5 separate regions of the Homo sapiens genome follow, and all the other regions are linked to region 2. The links are contacts of gene promoters, found by promoter capture Hi-C in blood cells and fetal thymus (Javierre and others, 2016). All regions are on one chromosome and are shown on one strand. The core of a region is centred on a gene start or on the middle of the fragment in contact, and the rest is flanking DNA. Distances in the headings are between cores, read along the strand shown.

The links. The method cuts DNA at HindIII sites, captures the fragments that hold promoters and counts their contacts. A CHiCAGO score of 5 or more calls a contact.
Region 1: a contact is called between a fragment that was not itself captured here and the fragment with the promoter of ESPL1 in region 2, in 1 of 17 cell types (erythroblasts). The highest score is 6.8, in erythroblasts.
Region 3: a contact is called between a fragment that was not itself captured here and the fragment with the promoter of ESPL1 in region 2, in 1 of 17 cell types (erythroblasts). The highest score is 6.3, in erythroblasts.
Region 4: a fragment that was not itself captured here is called in contact with the fragment with the promoter of ESPL1 in region 2 in 2 of 17 cell types (total CD8 T cells and endothelial precursors); the score reaches 5.7 in total CD8 T cells.
Region 5: a contact is called between a fragment that was not itself captured here and the fragment with the promoter of ESPL1 in region 2, in 2 of 17 cell types (naive B cells and erythroblasts). The highest score is 5.7, in naive B cells.

Annotation. Positions count from the first base shown.
Region 1 is chr12:53,469,150-53,472,135 of GRCh38, forward strand. It overlaps PCBP2 (poly(rC) binding protein 2), which reads left to right. Exons shown (of 15, transcript NM_031989.5): 14 at 2,489-2,658. Among named protein-coding and RNA genes, the nearest start is that of PCBP2-OT1, 6.2 kb to the left of the region's middle. The HindIII fragment of the contact is 4,794 bases long and covers 1-2,986 here.
Region 2 is chr12:53,266,725-53,269,799 of GRCh38, forward strand. ESPL1 (extra spindle pole bodies like 1, separase) reads left to right here and starts at 1,575. Exons shown (of 31, transcript NM_012291.5): 1 at 1,575-1,653; 2 at 2,031-2,123; 3 at 2,300-3,075. The coding sequence starts at 2,043. RefSeq lists enhancers at 1,512-1,881, 1,942-2,021. The HindIII fragment of the contact is 5,649 bases long and covers 1-2,361 here.
Region 3 is chr12:53,018,268-53,021,441 of GRCh38, forward strand. It overlaps EIF4B (eukaryotic translation initiation factor 4B), which reads left to right. Exons shown (of 15, transcript NM_001417.7): 3 at 531-739; 4 at 1,643-1,759. Among named protein-coding and RNA genes, the nearest start is that of EIF4B, 13 kb to the left of the region's middle. The HindIII fragment of the contact is 2,938 bases long and covers 367-3,174 here.
Region 4 is chr12:53,072,408-53,075,475 of GRCh38, forward strand. It overlaps SPRYD3 (SPRY domain containing 3), which reads right to left. Exons shown (of 11, transcript NM_032840.3): 4 at 2,688-2,812; 5 at 2,242-2,377; 6 at 879-1,064. Among named protein-coding and RNA genes, the nearest start is that of SPRYD3, 5.4 kb to the right of the region's middle. RefSeq lists enhancers at 1-152, 1-476. The HindIII fragment of the contact is 2,730 bases long and covers 283-3,012 here.
Region 5 is chr12:53,492,048-53,495,133 of GRCh38, forward strand. The region is part of intron 1 of MAP3K12 (mitogen-activated protein kinase kinase kinase 12); the gene reads right to left. Among named protein-coding and RNA genes, the nearest start is that of MAP3K12, 5.9 kb to the right of the region's middle. RefSeq lists a silencer at 831-1,080. The HindIII fragment of the contact is 2,695 bases long and covers 68-2,762 here.

The sequences.
Region 1 (2,986 bases), core at 66-2,565, 200 kb after region 2:
CCTTGGCCTCCCAAAGTGCTGGGATTACAGGTCTGAGTCACCGCACTTGGCCTACATGTCCTGCTACTTTTAAGCCCTAGGGAAAGAAACTGGGAATTTTATTATTTTATCTTTATTTTTGTTTTTGTTTTTCATACCCCAGGAATGGAAAATGGGAATTTTTAGACACAAAAATAAGTTGATTATAATATACAGAATTGTGATGACAAATATGATAAGAGAAAATAGACTATTATTGTGTGAGGTATGACGAGACAGCAGTAACTTTTTGCTGAAAATAGAAATTCCTGGCTGGGCACGGTGGCTCACTCCTGTAATCCCAGCACTTTGGGAGGCCGAGGCGGGTGGATCACCTGAGCTTGGAAGTTCGAGACCAGCCTGACTACCATGGAGGAACCCATCTCTACTAAAAATACAAAAAAAGCAAAAAGCCTGGCATGGTGTTGCATCTCTGTAATCCCAGCTATTTGGGAGGCTAAGGTAGGAGAATTGCTTGAAACCCGGGAGGCGGAGGTTGTGGTGAGCCGAGATCGCGCCATCGCACTCCAGCCTGGGCAACAAGAGCGAAACTCCATTTCAAAAAAGGAAAGAAATTCCTGTACATTTGCTGCTTTTTTTTTTTTTTTTTTTGAGACGGCATCTTGCTCTGTTTCCCAGGCTTGGCTCACTGTGACCTCCGTCTCCTGGGTTCAAGCAATTTTCCTGCCCCAGCCTCCCGAGTAGATGGGACTACAGGCATGTGCCACCATGTCCGGCTGATTTTTGTATTTTTTTTAATTAGAGATGGGGTTTCTCCATGTTGGTCAGGCTGGTCTTGAACTCCTGACCTTACGTGATCCCCCCCCTTCAGCCTCCCAAAGCGTTGGGATTACAGGTGTGAGCCACTGCGTCCAGCCTGCTTTTGTTTTTTTGTAGAAGCTAAAGCCTTATCTTTAGAAGATGTTGTGGTTTTCAGCCAGGTGCAGTGGCTCATGCATATAATCCCAGCACTTGTGGGAGGCTGAGGCAAGTGGGTCACGAGGTCAGGAGACCAGCCTGACCATAGTGGTGAAACCCTGTCTCTACTAAAAATACAAAAATTAGCCAGGTGTGCTGGCCCGCACCTGTAATCCCATTACTCAGAAGGCTGAGGCAGGAGAATCCCCTGAACCTGGGAGGCGGAGGTTGCAGTGAGCCAAGATCGTGCCACTGCACTCCAGCCTGGGCAACAGACCAAGACTCCGTCTCTCAAAAAAAAAAAAAAAAAAAAAAAAGTGTAGTGGCTTTTTTTTTTGACAAAGGGTCTCCCTCTGTTGCCCAGGCTGGAGCAGAGAGGCATGATCGTGGCTCACTGCAGCCTTGAACTTCCAGGCTTAAGAGATCCTCCCATCTCAGCCTCCTGAGTAGCTGGGACCACAGGTGCATGCCACTATCCCTGGCTAACTTTTTTTGTATTTTTTTTGTAAAGACAAGAGTTTCGCCATGAAACTCCTGAACGCAAGTGATTGGCCTGCCTCAGCCTACAGGCATGAGCCACGGTCCCCCACCATAGTGTAGTGGTTCATGAACATCAGATCTGTGCTGTCCAGGGTCATATTTTTTACAGTATTAGTGCAAATGTTAACCAGTTTTTTTTTTTTTTTTTCCACCTTTTCCCAAGGCAAAAACACCTTAGGAATTGGCCAGAATTCTTGTCGGTATAGGAGGGTGGTAATCATGGCAGGATGACTTTAAGCATATTTGCTGCCAGAAACAGAATGTATTTCTACCTTTATCTATTTCTAGCTGTCTAAATTTATTTTTGTTTTGGCTCTGCTTTGTCTTTGGAAGTAATATTCTGAGGACAGAAATAATGAAGAGCTAATACTTGGACCTAAGAGTATTATGTCTCTTGGACCTAAAAGACAGTTCTGAGTTGGCTCAGAACTGGCTGTCACTCACCATGGGTGGTCAGACTGAAAAATGGGTCAAGAGTTGAGTTTTTTGATCAAAAGTGTATGAGTAAAGGGTGTAGGATGAAATTGGGCATGGCGGTATACACCTGTAATCCCAGGTTACAGGGAGCACAGAGATACAGAGGCTGAGATTCGAAAATGGCTTAAACCAAGGAGTTTGAGACTAGCCTGAGCAACATAGCGAGACCCTCGGTTTTTTTTTTTTTTTTTAAAGGGCCAGGTTCGGTGGCTTATACCTGTAATCCCAGCACTTTGGGAGGCCAAGGTGGGTGGATCACAAGGTCAAGAGATTGAGACCATCCTGGCCAACATGGTGAAACCCCGTCTCTACTAAAAATACAAAAATTGGCTGGGCATGGTGGCATGCGCCTGTAGTCCTGCTGAGGCAGGTGAATTGCTCAAATCCAGGAGGCTGAGGTTGCACAGTGAGCCAAGATCAGGCCACTGCACTCCAGCCTGGCCACAGTCGTAGGATTTGGGGTGGGGGGGTGGGATTCTTAGACCTAGCCATGCAACTCTAATTCGGTGTGCCTTGTTTTTCTTTCTCCCTTAAGTTGATTGGCTGCATAATCGGGCGTCAAGGCGCCAAAATCAATGAGATCCGTCAGATGTCTGGGGCGCAGATCAAAATTGCGAACCCAGTGGAAGGATCTACTGATAGGCAGGTTACCATCACTGGATCTGCTGCCAGCATTAGCCTGGCTCAATATCTAATCAATGTCAGGTAAGATTGCTCTACCTTTTGTCTTATTTATGCCAACACAGTAATGTGTGTGTTGGGGAGAGCTGCAGTGTATTAAATATGGGATTACATGGGCGATGGGTAAAGATGGCCAAAAGGTTTTTTTTTTTTTTTGCTAGCTCTACTTTCTTAGAGTGTAGCAGAAAAAGTAAACTGCAGTAAGTTTTCAAGGGGTTGGTGGGGGGGGGAGCACAGATTGCCCGCATTTAACTTGATGGTTTGGTAAGAGGGAAGAGTGGTCCTTGTCTTCAGTAAGAGTCCTCTGGCTAGAGCACTCACAAAATCAAATGTGGGTCTCTCTTGTTCTACA
Region 2 (3,075 bases), core at 325-2,824:
GGTTTTTTTTGTTTGTTTGTTTGTTTTTTGGTTTTTTTTTTTTTGAGACAGAGTCGTCTCGCTCTGTAGCCCAGGCTGGAGTGCAGTGGCGCGATCTTGGCTCACTGCAAGCTCCGCTTCCCGGGTTCACGCCGTTCTCCTAGCGCAGCCTCCCGAGTAGCTGGGACTACAGGAGCCTGCAACCACGCCCGGCTAATTTTTTGTATTTTTAGTAGAGACGGGGTTTCACCATGTTGGCCAGGATTGTCTCGATCTCCTGACCTCGTGATCCGCCCGCCTCGGTCTCTCAAAGTGCTGGGATTACAGGCGTGAGCCACCGCGCCCGGCCTTTTTTTTGGTTTTCTTTTTTGAGACAGAGTCTTGCTCTGTCACCCAGACTGCAGTACAGTGGCGGGATCTCAGCTCACTGCAACCTCCGCTTCCCGGGTTCAAGCGATCCTCCCAAGTAGCTGGGACTACAGGCCCCCGATGCCACAGCAGCTAATTTTTGTATTTTTAGTAGAGATGGGGTTTCACCATGTTGGTCAGGCTGGTTCTCAAGTGATCCACCCACCTCGGCCTCCTAAAGTGCTGGGATTATAGGCGTGAGCCACCGCGCCCGGCCTTCTTTTCTTTCTTTTTACAAAAATAATCTTCCCTGCTAGATTCTCAACTCATAAAAGAGCTCTATGATGATGGAGAAGGATGAGTTATCCAGTAGAGTTCATCAGCGACAAGCTGATAACCACTTTTGAGCTGAATTCTTTGGTGGAGGAAGGAAAGAGACAGCTGAATCTGTGTTTGGGGAAGTGGTTAGTACTTAAAAACATAAGCCATTAAAGACTGTGAAATATCCCAGGGAATGAATTTCCATAGTTCTTCCTGCTACTCACAACTCCCACCCCACCCCACTACCCTCTCTCCCCCATCGAAGAGCACCAGATCTTGTCTTTCTCATACAACCAATAGAAGGAGTAAGGCTGGAAGGCAGAGAGAGAGCTGGAGGTCGCTACGGGTACTCATTGTAGTTCCCCTAGAAAACCATCTTTAAAATAATTTCGTAGGAAGTTGGGCGTGGCGGTGCACGCCCGTAGTCAGCACTTTGGGAGGCTGAGGTGGGAGGATCACTTAAGCCCGGGAGTTTGAAGCTGCAGTGAGCTGTGATCACGCCACTGCACTCCAGCCTGTGTGTCAGAGCAAGACCCTATCAAAAAAAAAATTCGTAGAAGTCTAAGCCCTTTTTTTCTAGTAACCCAAACCGCGTGAGTTCCTAAGTTCTTTTTGTTATTTCTCTTCTCTTGAAACTTAAACTCTTGCCTGAGCTCTGAAGATAAAGGAGGAAAAGGGGTGGCATTACCGATAGCGACTAAGCGACAGGTAGCTGAGAAACTGAGCTCTGACTGGAAAAAAGGGGGAAACCCGCACCCCCAAGAGGCCCTAACGCGCAGAGCAGCAAGACCCTCCGGGGCGCCGCGGGAGCGCGCAGCGCGGCGGGTAAACTACAACTCCCAGCGTGCCGCGCGCCCGGCGTTGCGCCGCGCCCGCTGATTGGCAGCCGCGGATATTTGAAAGGAGGGTCTGGCGCGGAAAACGAAGGTTACATTTTGGATCCTCGCGGAGTACTGGTCAGGCGGTTAAGTCCTGTACCTAGGAAAGAGGGCGAGCTCTGGGGCGGTAAGGCCGGAAGGGACTCGTGAGCGTGGGTACGTGCTGAAGTGAAGGGGATCCCCAGCGCTGACGCGAGGAGAGGCGTGGGTGGCTCCTGGAGGGAGTGTCGGGAGGCCTTGGGACTGCCCCGGGCCGCTGAAGGGCTGGGCCGAGGCCTCTGGGGTAGCGCGGCGAGTGGTGTGGTAGTGCGGTCGGGGATCTGCCCGGAGGAAGGAAGAGCGGAATCGTCCTTTTATAACGGGAGCACGGCGTCCTGGCGTGGGTTTTCTCCCCGATGAAATTTCTGATGTGATTCTTTGCCTCCTTCCACGACCTTCAGCCCTCTTCCCTTCCTCCAGTTAGCTTCATTAACAATCTTCTCTAATTGGTCTCCTTTTCCCTAGCTCTCCGGTGTCATGAGGAGCTTCAAAAGAGTCAACTTTGGGACTCTGCTAAGCAGCCAGAAGGAGGCTGAAGAGTTGCTGCCCGCCTTGAAGGTGGGGGTGCTGCCTGGCTCGGGATACACCTGGCTTTCCAAACTGAGCTGTTTTGTGTTTGCCTTTTGAAGAGATGGATAAGTAGGCGACCCTCTCTGAGTAACCCTATTTCTAGTTACTTTCTCTACCTCTTTCCTGCCTTTGCTAGCCCCATTCATATCTTTCTCTACTCCTAGGAGTTCCTGTCCAACCCTCCAGCTGGTTTTCCCAGCAGCCGATCTGATGCTGAGAGGAGACAAGCTTGTGATGCCATCCTGAGGGCTTGCAACCAGCAGCTGACTGCTAAGCTAGCTTGCCCTAGGCATCTGGGGAGCCTGCTGGAGCTGGCAGAGCTGGCCTGTGATGGCTACTTAGTGTCTACCCCACAGCGTCCTCCCCTCTACCTGGAACGAATTCTCTTTGTCTTACTGCGGAATGCTGCTGCACAAGGAAGCCCAGAGGCCACACTCCGCCTTGCTCAGCCCCTCCATGCCTGCTTGGTGCAGTGCTCTCGCGAGGCTGCTCCCCAGGACTATGAGGCCGTGGCTCGGGGCAGCTTTTCTCTGCTTTGGAAGGGGGCAGAAGCCCTGTTGGAACGGCGAGCTGCATTTGCAGCTCGGCTGAAGGCCTTGAGCTTCCTAGTACTCTTGGAGGATGAAAGTACCCCTTGTGAGGTTCCTCACTTTGCTTCTCCAACAGCCTGTCGAGCGGTAGCTGCCCATCAGCTATTTGATGCCAGTGGCCATGGTCTAAATGAAGCAGATGCTGATTTCCTAGATGACCTGCTCTCCAGGCACGTGATCAGAGCCTTGGTGGGTGAGAGAGGGAGCTCTTCTGGGCTTCTTTCTCCCCAGAGGGCCCTCTGCCTCTTGGAGCTCACCTTGGAACACTGCCGTCGCTTTTGCTGGAGCCGCCACCATGACAAAGCCATCAGCGCAGTGGAGAAGGCTCACAGTTACCTAAGGAACACCAA
Region 3 (3,174 bases), core at 586-3,085, 250 kb before region 2:
GTGAGCCACCGAGCCAGGCCTGTTGTTGTTTTTAAGGGAGGATAGACCATGCAGAAAAATACTCAACTTCAAACTCACCACTAGGAATACAAGAGTTGTCAGTAGTGGTTAAATATACCTGGAGTAAGAGGGACCCAGGTTTGAATCCTAGCTTTACCGTCTGTGACCTTGGGCAAATTACTGTCTGAAATCTGAGTTTGCTTTTCTGTAGAATGGGGGACAACCTCACAGGACTGTTAAAAAGATAAGATGGGATATAATGAATATAAAGTAGCTGGCACACAGTAATATTCCATAAAGAGTTGTATTTATGGAATAATATTTCTTTGCTTACATAAAGATTAAGGTGTCATAATTAATCTCAGAAGCTTCTCTTCGTAAAGTGCCCTTATTACTGAACCCCCACTTTTTTTGGTCTGGTTTTCTTGTATAGCATGTTTAATATTTGGCAATTAACATGGGTCCTCTTGTTCTATGACAGTAGTGAGAGAAGTTTCTTCTAATTTCTTACATTCATTCCTCTATCCTAGTTTCGACCACTTGGCACAGTAACGATGACGATGTGTATAGGGCGCCTCCAATTGACCGTTCCATCCTTCCCACTGCTCCACGGGCTGCTCGGGAACCCAATATCGACCGGAGCCGTCTTCCCAAATCGCCACCCTACACTGCTTTTCTAGGAAACCTACCCTATGATGTTACAGAAGAGTCAATTAAGGAATTCTTTCGAGGATTAAATGTAAGTGTAAAAGTTGTAATAATTAACTAGATATTGAGGATAATGTCTAAAAAAGACTAATTGTGGAATGGGCAGTTGCTGTTGAAAAAACAACTAGAAATATAATTTAAGGCCGGGAATGGTGGCTCACGCCTGTAATCCCAGCACTCTGGGAGTCTGAGGCGGGTGGATCATTTGAGGTCAGGAATTCGAGTCCAGCCTGGCTAACGTGGTGAGACCCTGTCTCTACTAAGAATACAAAAATTAGCTGGGCGTGGTGGTACACGTCTGTAATCCCAGCTACTTGGGAGGCTGAGGTAGGAGAATTGCTTGAACCTGGAAGACGGAGGTTGTGGTGAGCCGAGATTGCGCCATTGCACTCCAGCCTGGGCAACAAGAGTGAAACACCATCTCAAAGAAAAAAAATAAAATCAAAATTATATATATATATATTTTTTTTTTTTCTTTTTTTTTTTTTTTTTTTTTTTTGAGACAGAGTCTCATTCTGTCATCCAGGCTGGAGTACAGTGGATTACATGCCCAGCTAATTTTTTGTATTTAGTAGAGATAGGGTTGCACTATGTTGGTCAGGCTGGTCTTGAACTCCTGACCTCAGAGGATCCACCTGCTTCGGCCTCCCAAAGTGCTGGGACTACAGGCATGAGCCACTGCACCTGGCCTGAATTAATCTTTTTTTTTTTTTTTTTAGAGTTAAATTCATACAGTTCAAAATTCAGAAGGTATAATAGGGCATTTAGTAAAGTTTCTACTATCCCTCTGCATCAGTTTTCCTCCTGAGACAACCATGTTCTTGTGTATTCAGAAAAATTCATGCACATACAGTAATGCTTTTGTAGTCCTCTCAAAAAATGACAAATGAAGAAGAATGCTGGGAAACTTTGTTGTTGATTCTTATTCCTTCAGATCAGTGCAGTGCGTTTACCACGTGAACCCAGCAATCCAGAGAGGTTGAAAGGTTTTGGTTATGCTGAATTTGAGGACCTGGATTCCCTGCTCAGTGCCCTGAGTCTCAATGAAGAGGTAAAGAAAATAAGAGTGGGGATATGAGGGGTGTAAGTTCACAAATCTCATGTTTATTGATCAAACTGGTATTTTTTAGGTTGAGAGGCTCACTTCAAAGATTCCCATATCTACAAATAAAGGCCTGCATTATTTAACAGTGTATCACTTAACATCGAACATCTAGCAAGTCACACTTCAGCAAATTCAGTAGGCCCCAATAATTTAGATAGGTACTTAGGTGGAAAGTTGTGGAAGAAACCCACCACACACCAGGTCTCTAATTAAGTCTTACACTGATTTACCCACAGTGTTGCCTCAACTCTTATGGCATTGCTTTTTCAAAGTAATCTGGCCTGATAAAGGCAAATAGAAAAATCAAGTTTGTTTAGTATTAAAGGCATATCTCATTTTCAGGGAAGTGTTGTAATGGTATATTTGTTCATTTAAGAGGATTTGGAAACATTTCCTACAAAGGAATATTTTACAGGAGAGTGACAATAAATATCTAGTCCTTCTGCTTGTCAACACTGCCCACAAAGGTTTTCCTGTCCCAGGACTTGAGGGGCTTATATCTCAGAAGAAAAAAGACTTTTTTCCTCCTTTAACTCCAAAAACACCTTATTGTTTATTGATAAGGCAATTTCTAGTGCCATTTGTGCCATATTTCTGTAGTCCTATTTTGCCATATGACATGATTGAAATCAACACCTCTTAGAAATAGTTTTGCTGCCTCATAATTGATTACCATCATGATAACCTGTAGTCAGTGTGAAATAGAGATAAAAATTAATGTACTTAGTTAAATGCATATGAAGGTCTAATCTTGTTCCAGAGTTACTCTTACTGGATTATTTTTAGATTTTTATTAACATTACTGGTCTCTAACTTTACTCAGTCTGGATAAGAAAAAGAATACCATGCAATTGTTAACTATTTGATGTTTACTAGATTAACTATTAATATATTGTTGTGGTCCATAGTTAAGAGTTACTTTGTTACTAGAGATTTCATTATAGTGGTGTTTAATATAGTTTTGGGTATTTTTAACTAAAAATCATTGTTATCCTTCAACTGTAGATTCTACTATGAAATGAGGAAAAATCAGCAATAGAATTAATTGGGTTCAAAGTATATAAATAATGATGTGGGAAAGGGAAGTCAGAGGGTATCTCTGGAAGAACTGATTTATCTGAAGGTAATACTGAGTGAAAGAACCTAAGATTGTAGACAAAGCATGCTTTATGCAATTTTGCTGGTACATAGTAGTAGTAGAGGCTCTATAAATGTGTTGGGTGTTTTTGTTTTTAAGAGACAGTGTCTCGCTATATTGCCCAGGCTGGATTTGAACTCCTGGGCTTAAGTGATCCTCCAGCCTCAGCCTCCCAAATAGCTGAGACTGTAGGTACATGCCACTGCACCTGGCTTCTATAAAT
Region 4 (3,068 bases), core at 398-2,897, 190 kb before region 2:
AAAACAGCCTGGGTTGGGGTGGAAAGGCCAGAGGGTGGAGAAAAAGGCCAGGCCAGGAGCAAGGGGGTAGGAGAGGGACAATTCGAAGTGGGAGGGCTGAGCAGCCCACTAGAGGTCAGGGCCAGATCCCGGACTTGGCGTCCATTCACTCCCAATGCAGCACAGTGTATTGAGGCAGACAGGAAGAATTTTCCTTTCTCAAGGTTCATGAATTTTCCAACAAAACTTAAAATCCGGGGAGGAAGAATTCCCCTTTCTCAAGCTCCACACGCTTCCCAACGAAGCTTAAAATCCATACTAAAGCAGGTATGAGGAAAAGATAAATGAAGCAAGTTTGGAGGTGTAAGGATGCTCACTGAATCTTTATCTGCCTCCATTCTAATCCTCTATCAAATGCAGGGATAAGACAATAGAAACTGACATTGACACTTCCTCAAAAAAGATGGCTAAGAACCTTCCACCACATGTGTGGACTTCTGACCACACCTGCCCCACAACACTTTGAATGAAAAGCCTGGGCCAGGCATTTTGCCTCCAGATCAACCCCCAGCCCCTCAAAGGCAGTTGTGCAGGGCTGTAGAAGACACCAGAAGCTGAAGGAACCAAAAAAGGCAAAGCAGAACTACTTGTTCCCAGGGTCAAACTGCGAACCTGAGTTCCCTGAAGAGGAGGAAGTGAAGAAAAGAGAACATGTGCTAAAGAAAACACAGATCTGGACTCAAGGACTCATGTCAAGAGCCTAGGCTATCTTGCCAAACCCCACACGGACACTGTCCCGACTCCCCATTCCCAGCAATTCAGACATGACCATGTGCCCACAGGTGTTCTGCCCAGCCTCCTCCGACCCAGCCCCTCCCACCCTCCCACCCGCTACTTACAGTCCCACAGACTCTGACATCATGTAGCCGGCCCCATTCATCCTCGTAACTGTCCACCATCATGACGCTGTCGTCCTCACGGCCCAGCTCAGCGTTGAGGTGCAGCCGCACCTCCTCACCCAGGGAGTGCATGCCCACTGCTGGGAACAGTCCATCTGGGGACATGGGCATGATGGTAGAGCCCACCTGCAGTGGGGGGAAAGACGGAGCTGCCACCCGGCCTGCTTTTCCATAGCTCACCTAATTCTCACAAGGGTACTTTTAAGATGATGCAACCAGCCGGGCGTGGTGGCTCACGCCTGTAATCCCAGCACTTTGGGAGGCCGAGGTGGGCGGATCACAAGGTCAGGAGATTGAAACCATCCTGGCTAACACGGTGAAACCCCGTCTCTACTAAAAATACAAAAAATTAGCCGGGCGTGGTGGCGGGCGCCTGTAGTCCCAGCTACTCGGGAGGCTGAGGCAGGAGAATGGCGTGAACCCGGGAGGCGGAGCTTGCAGTGAGCCGAGATGGTGCCACTGCACTCCAGCCTGGGGGACAGAGCGAGACTCCATTTCAAAAAAAAAAAAAAAAAGATGATGCAACCAATAATTATCACACACACTGACAGATTAAAAAAAAAAAAGCAACCCAGAGGTGCAGAAAAGTTTCCAAATGTGCTAAGTACTCCTGGCTAAGCAAGGTATGTACAGAGCTAGAAGACAAACACAAGTCTCCTGACTTGCTGCCAAATACTTTCAGTACGTGTGCTGGACAGGAGAGTGCCGAGGCGCAGATGCTAAGGCAGCAGGACCCCTTGGCCAAGGCCTGAGAAACCAATTTCCCAATGTGGGAGATGGAGTTGGAGAGAAGGGAGAGAGCTGTGTGTCTCTCTCTACTATTGGCTCCTGTCCCATCTCCTCACCACGCCTAGTCTCTCTACGAACAGGATAGTGAAAGAGACGTGAAACAAGGAAAACAGGACACAGAAAGGACATATCCCCAAAAGTGCTCAAGTCAAAACCCAAAGAGGACCTCCAGCTTACATGGCCAGGCCATAATCTTCCCCTCTCTTTTATCTGCTCAAAACCTTCCCCCAAATCACCCAATTCTGTTCCCCACAATTCCTGCTCATCCTCTGCTCCACTAACTTGCCTCTCTCTGCCTGTCATCTGGGCAATGTCCCAGCTTCCTCTGGCCATGGGAAGTATCTTCTCCTACACGCAAGAGACTTCAGGAGAATCTGAGGCTGGACTGGAGGAGATGGGAACTCAGTGCAAGGGTCCCTGGGCAAGCCCCAGCCAGCAGACTCTTCCTAATCACTCCCCACAAATCCTTGGGCAGATTTCAGCCACGTAAATCCCACCACTATTTCCCACTCACCCGCTTCCCATTTTTGGTGAAGAAGATCTGGGCGGTCTGCACATCAAAGGACACAGGCTCAATGCCACAGCCAATCCGGTCCCCGGAGTTGCACTTTGACCCAAACTGGCGGCCCTTGGCTCGGCCATTGTACAGCCTACAGACAGAGTAGTACAGACACAGGACCCGAGCCTGGCCTCCCAACTTCTCCCCAGCACTGACAGCAGAGGCCTCATCCTCATCTTGCTGCTCCTGGTCATTCTGTGATGGTACCCACTTACGTCCTGGCGTGAGCATCACCCTCCTCTAGTCTGTAAGCCTTCAAGGGTGCTGCCAGGCCACTTCCCTGTCCTGACCAGAAAAGTCTATGAAACACCCAATGGGAAAAGCCAGCCCAAGGTAGTTCTTCAGATCTAAGATTCCCAAATTCATAGGAAAAGGGCCGGGTTGCACAGGAGCCAACTCACTTGCCATCATCAGCATGGTAGGCTACAGAGTCAGGCAACCAGCCAGGCTGGTGATCCAAGCTGTAGTACTGAGGGACCAGCCCCACAGCAATGGTGCCCCGGACTCCACTGTCCACAATAGACACCTGGAGAGAAGAAAGCAGGGCACAGTCAGCAGGGCTGGGAAATGGGATGAATTGCTGGGGGTGGGGGAAGGGGACTTAGAGATTAAAGGGCGCTGAGGCTCAAAAAGAAAAAGGACATGGGAATCAGGAAAAAAGATAAGATACTCAGAGGGGGCAATTGGTGAGAGTGGGTGCCTATTTCACTTAGAAAATTACTCCAAAGCTTTGGAGAAAGATAGGACTCACGTCCCTATATGGTGGGTTTGGGTTAGGGGAC
Region 5 (3,086 bases), core at 165-2,664, 230 kb after region 2:
CTGGGTGACAGAGCAAGACTCTGTTTCAAAAAAAAAAAAAAAAAGAAGAAGAAGAAAAAGAAGCTCAAGCTTCACCCCCAGCCTGGAAGGCGCTTCTCATCTCTATCCAGGTGTCACTTTATCCTGGACGTCCTTCTTTCCTGATCCGCTCTAGGTTAATGCGCCTTCTGGGCTGACACAGCCCCACTATGCGTCCTCTATCATGGTTCCCATTATACTGGACGGACAATGTAGTCGGGCGTCTGGCTCCTTTGAGAGCCTGGACAGCCTTTAGAGAGATGACTTCGCATCACAAGGGAACCATGGCTTGCAACAGCACCTGGCACGCAGAAGGTGCTCGGTAAGGTGGAACCACTGCTCTACTCACCCCGGAGGATCGCCTTAAGCCCCGCACACTCTCTCTGCGCGCGCGCGCGCGCGCAAACACACACACAAAACTAGCTCCCTGAATCCTCAGAAGAGCCAGGTGAAGGAGGTACTACTGGTCCCATTATATTCTTGAGAGAACTGAGGCCCAGAAAGCACAAATCACACTAAAGTTCAGCTTCCAAATCCCCAACATATCCCACGCGTTATTTGTGGCTTCAAGAGGTAAGGTGTAGGTTGCAATGCAAATTACAGACAAACACAGACCAAGCAAAGTGCCAACATATGGGAGAATTTCGTCTGGAGGACCCAAGGGATTTTGCCTGCCCCCCAACCTCCCTCCCCGCCCCCACCACCTCCCACTCCGCCGCAACCCCGGGCTTCGCTTCTGGACCACCCAGAAACAAGGCCCAAGACTCTGGGACGCTCTCGCCTGGCAGGCCAGGAGGGAGGGATGGCGGGATTGGAGCCCTCGGGGAGGAGCCGGGGCCGTGCCCTGGACAGCTTGGTCACCAGCAATGGAAGGACGAAGCCCAAGTCAGGACCGCTGAAAGTGGGGAGGAAGGGGTTACGGCCACAGCGCCCCCTCCCCCTTCCCGACCTCCTTCCCGGCCGTCACGTGGCGCGTGGCTGGGGCGGGGGCCGCGGCGGCGGAAGGGGGTGGTCCGGGTGGGGAAAGGGAAGGGACACGGCCGGCTGGGGGAAGCGCTGGGCGCTGCGGCGTAACCATGACGACTGGGCCTGAGGCGGCGCGTGAAGTCACCAGGACAAGATTAGCCCCGGATCACGTGAGCGCGACGTGGGGGCGGGGCTGTGCCTGGGCCCCGCCCCTGACCTGGGCCGGCCCAGGTGGCTGGTTGCCGGGATGGCTGCGAGGATCTTAGGTGCGGACCCCCACCCAGCGGTCTGCCCCATCTGTGTTCCCTTCCTTCCCCTGCCCCCGCATGCAGAGAGATCTTCGGCTGAGGCGTCTGGTGTTGGCAGGAGGGGACTTGTGGGGTTGGCATTGGGGGTGCAGTACCACAGGGAAGGAAAGCAGGAAATGAGAGAAAGGGAGACAGGGCACAGAAAAGGCGAAAGGTACAGCTAGGAAGGAGGAAGGAGCTGAGACATATACAGACACCGGAGCAGCGTCAAGCGGAGTCAACCCCGAGAAGGATGGCTTGAAAAGCTGTTTGGAAAAGCAGAGGACCCTGAGAAAATGGAGATGAAAGGGGAGTGAGAAACACGGAGAACACCCATCTCCTTTTCTGTCTAGAAGCCGAGCTTTGAGTAGGCACAGCACCTGGCTTTTTAAAGGAATTTTTCAGCCGTCATCTGGTTGTTTGACGACTAGGTGGTTTAGGCATAGAAAGGGTGACATGCTCAGAGACACTTGCAGCCAGCCGAGCCTCCCTCCAGTTCACCAGGCTTCCCCAGAGGCCCTTCTGGTATCCAGGGCCAGCAGCTGGGGAGAGAAGGAGAGAAGCCATTTCACCTGTTTGTCTTTTACGGTAGTGGGGATAGCTGAAGAAGTAGGAGATGGGACCAAGGGAAAGATCTCAGGCTAGTTGACGGCTCTTCCACATTGACCTGGAGTGAGGGAAAGCTGCTGCCCCTGGGAGCTATAGTAAAGTGGAGATTCCTCTCTCCCAACACACACACACATACCCCTTTTTGTTTCCTTTATTTCTGACCTGCCAGCTGTGTCCCACTGCCCCCTGGCTGGGCCTTGGCGCCAGAGCTTTGGAGGGGCGTCTAGGATGGCTAGGAGCCCCTGGCCCAGACGTTCAGTCACCCTGGGGGAGGGTAGCTGTCTCTCCGTTATCAATTATGCAGAGCATGGGGGAAGGGCAGCAATGTGACAGGAGGGTGGGTCTCTCTGTCACTCACTGTCAACCATATCTACCAAGTGTTGATGGTGCTTCTGCCTCACATTGGGTGAGGGGACAGAATGATCTCTAAGCCATACATGTGCCAGGGGAGGAGGCTCTTTGGACACCCAACAGGCCCTAATTCAGTGCTTTGCTGGTGGCCCCAAAGTGACTCCATAAGGAGGCTACAGGGTAGAGTGGGGTAGGAAGTCACCCCCCATCTATCCCACCTTCTAGGTTCTCTGGCCTGAGATTTTGGAAGCCTGTGGCAGGTAAACTCTCTGAATTCTCTCTAGCTCCTTCTTGTATAACAGCAGAATGTCAATGCTAAGCTGTTTGGTGGTCTTAGGGGCTCAGTTCAGAGGCCAGGTCATCTGCCTAAATCTTGGGCTCTCACACTGAGTGCTCTCCACTGTCTGAGACCTCATTTTTTTACTCAGGAAAAGGAGAATGATTCCCTTTCTCTCGTGAGTGGGGGTAGGAAGGGGAGTCTTCAAAGGGAAAGGAGACCCAAGACTTTGGAGTCCTAATTCCACCTCTGCAAGCTTTGAAACCCTGAGAGGATAAAGGTCTCTGATCAATCGTGGCCATGCCTCCTGTCCCCTTGGCTGCAGCTCGTATTGTTTTTGAAACAGGGTCTCGCTTTGTTGCCCAGGCTGGAGTGCAGTGGGATGATCACGGCTCACTGCCTGCAGCCTCAACCTCCTGGGCTCAAGTGATCCTCCCCCTTCAGCCTCCTGAGTAGCTGGGACTACAGGCACTCACCACCACACCAGACTAAATTAAAAAAAGGCCGAGCACAGTGGCTCACGTCTGTAGTCCCAGCACTTTGGGAGGCCCAGGCGGGCGGATCATGAGGTCAGGAGA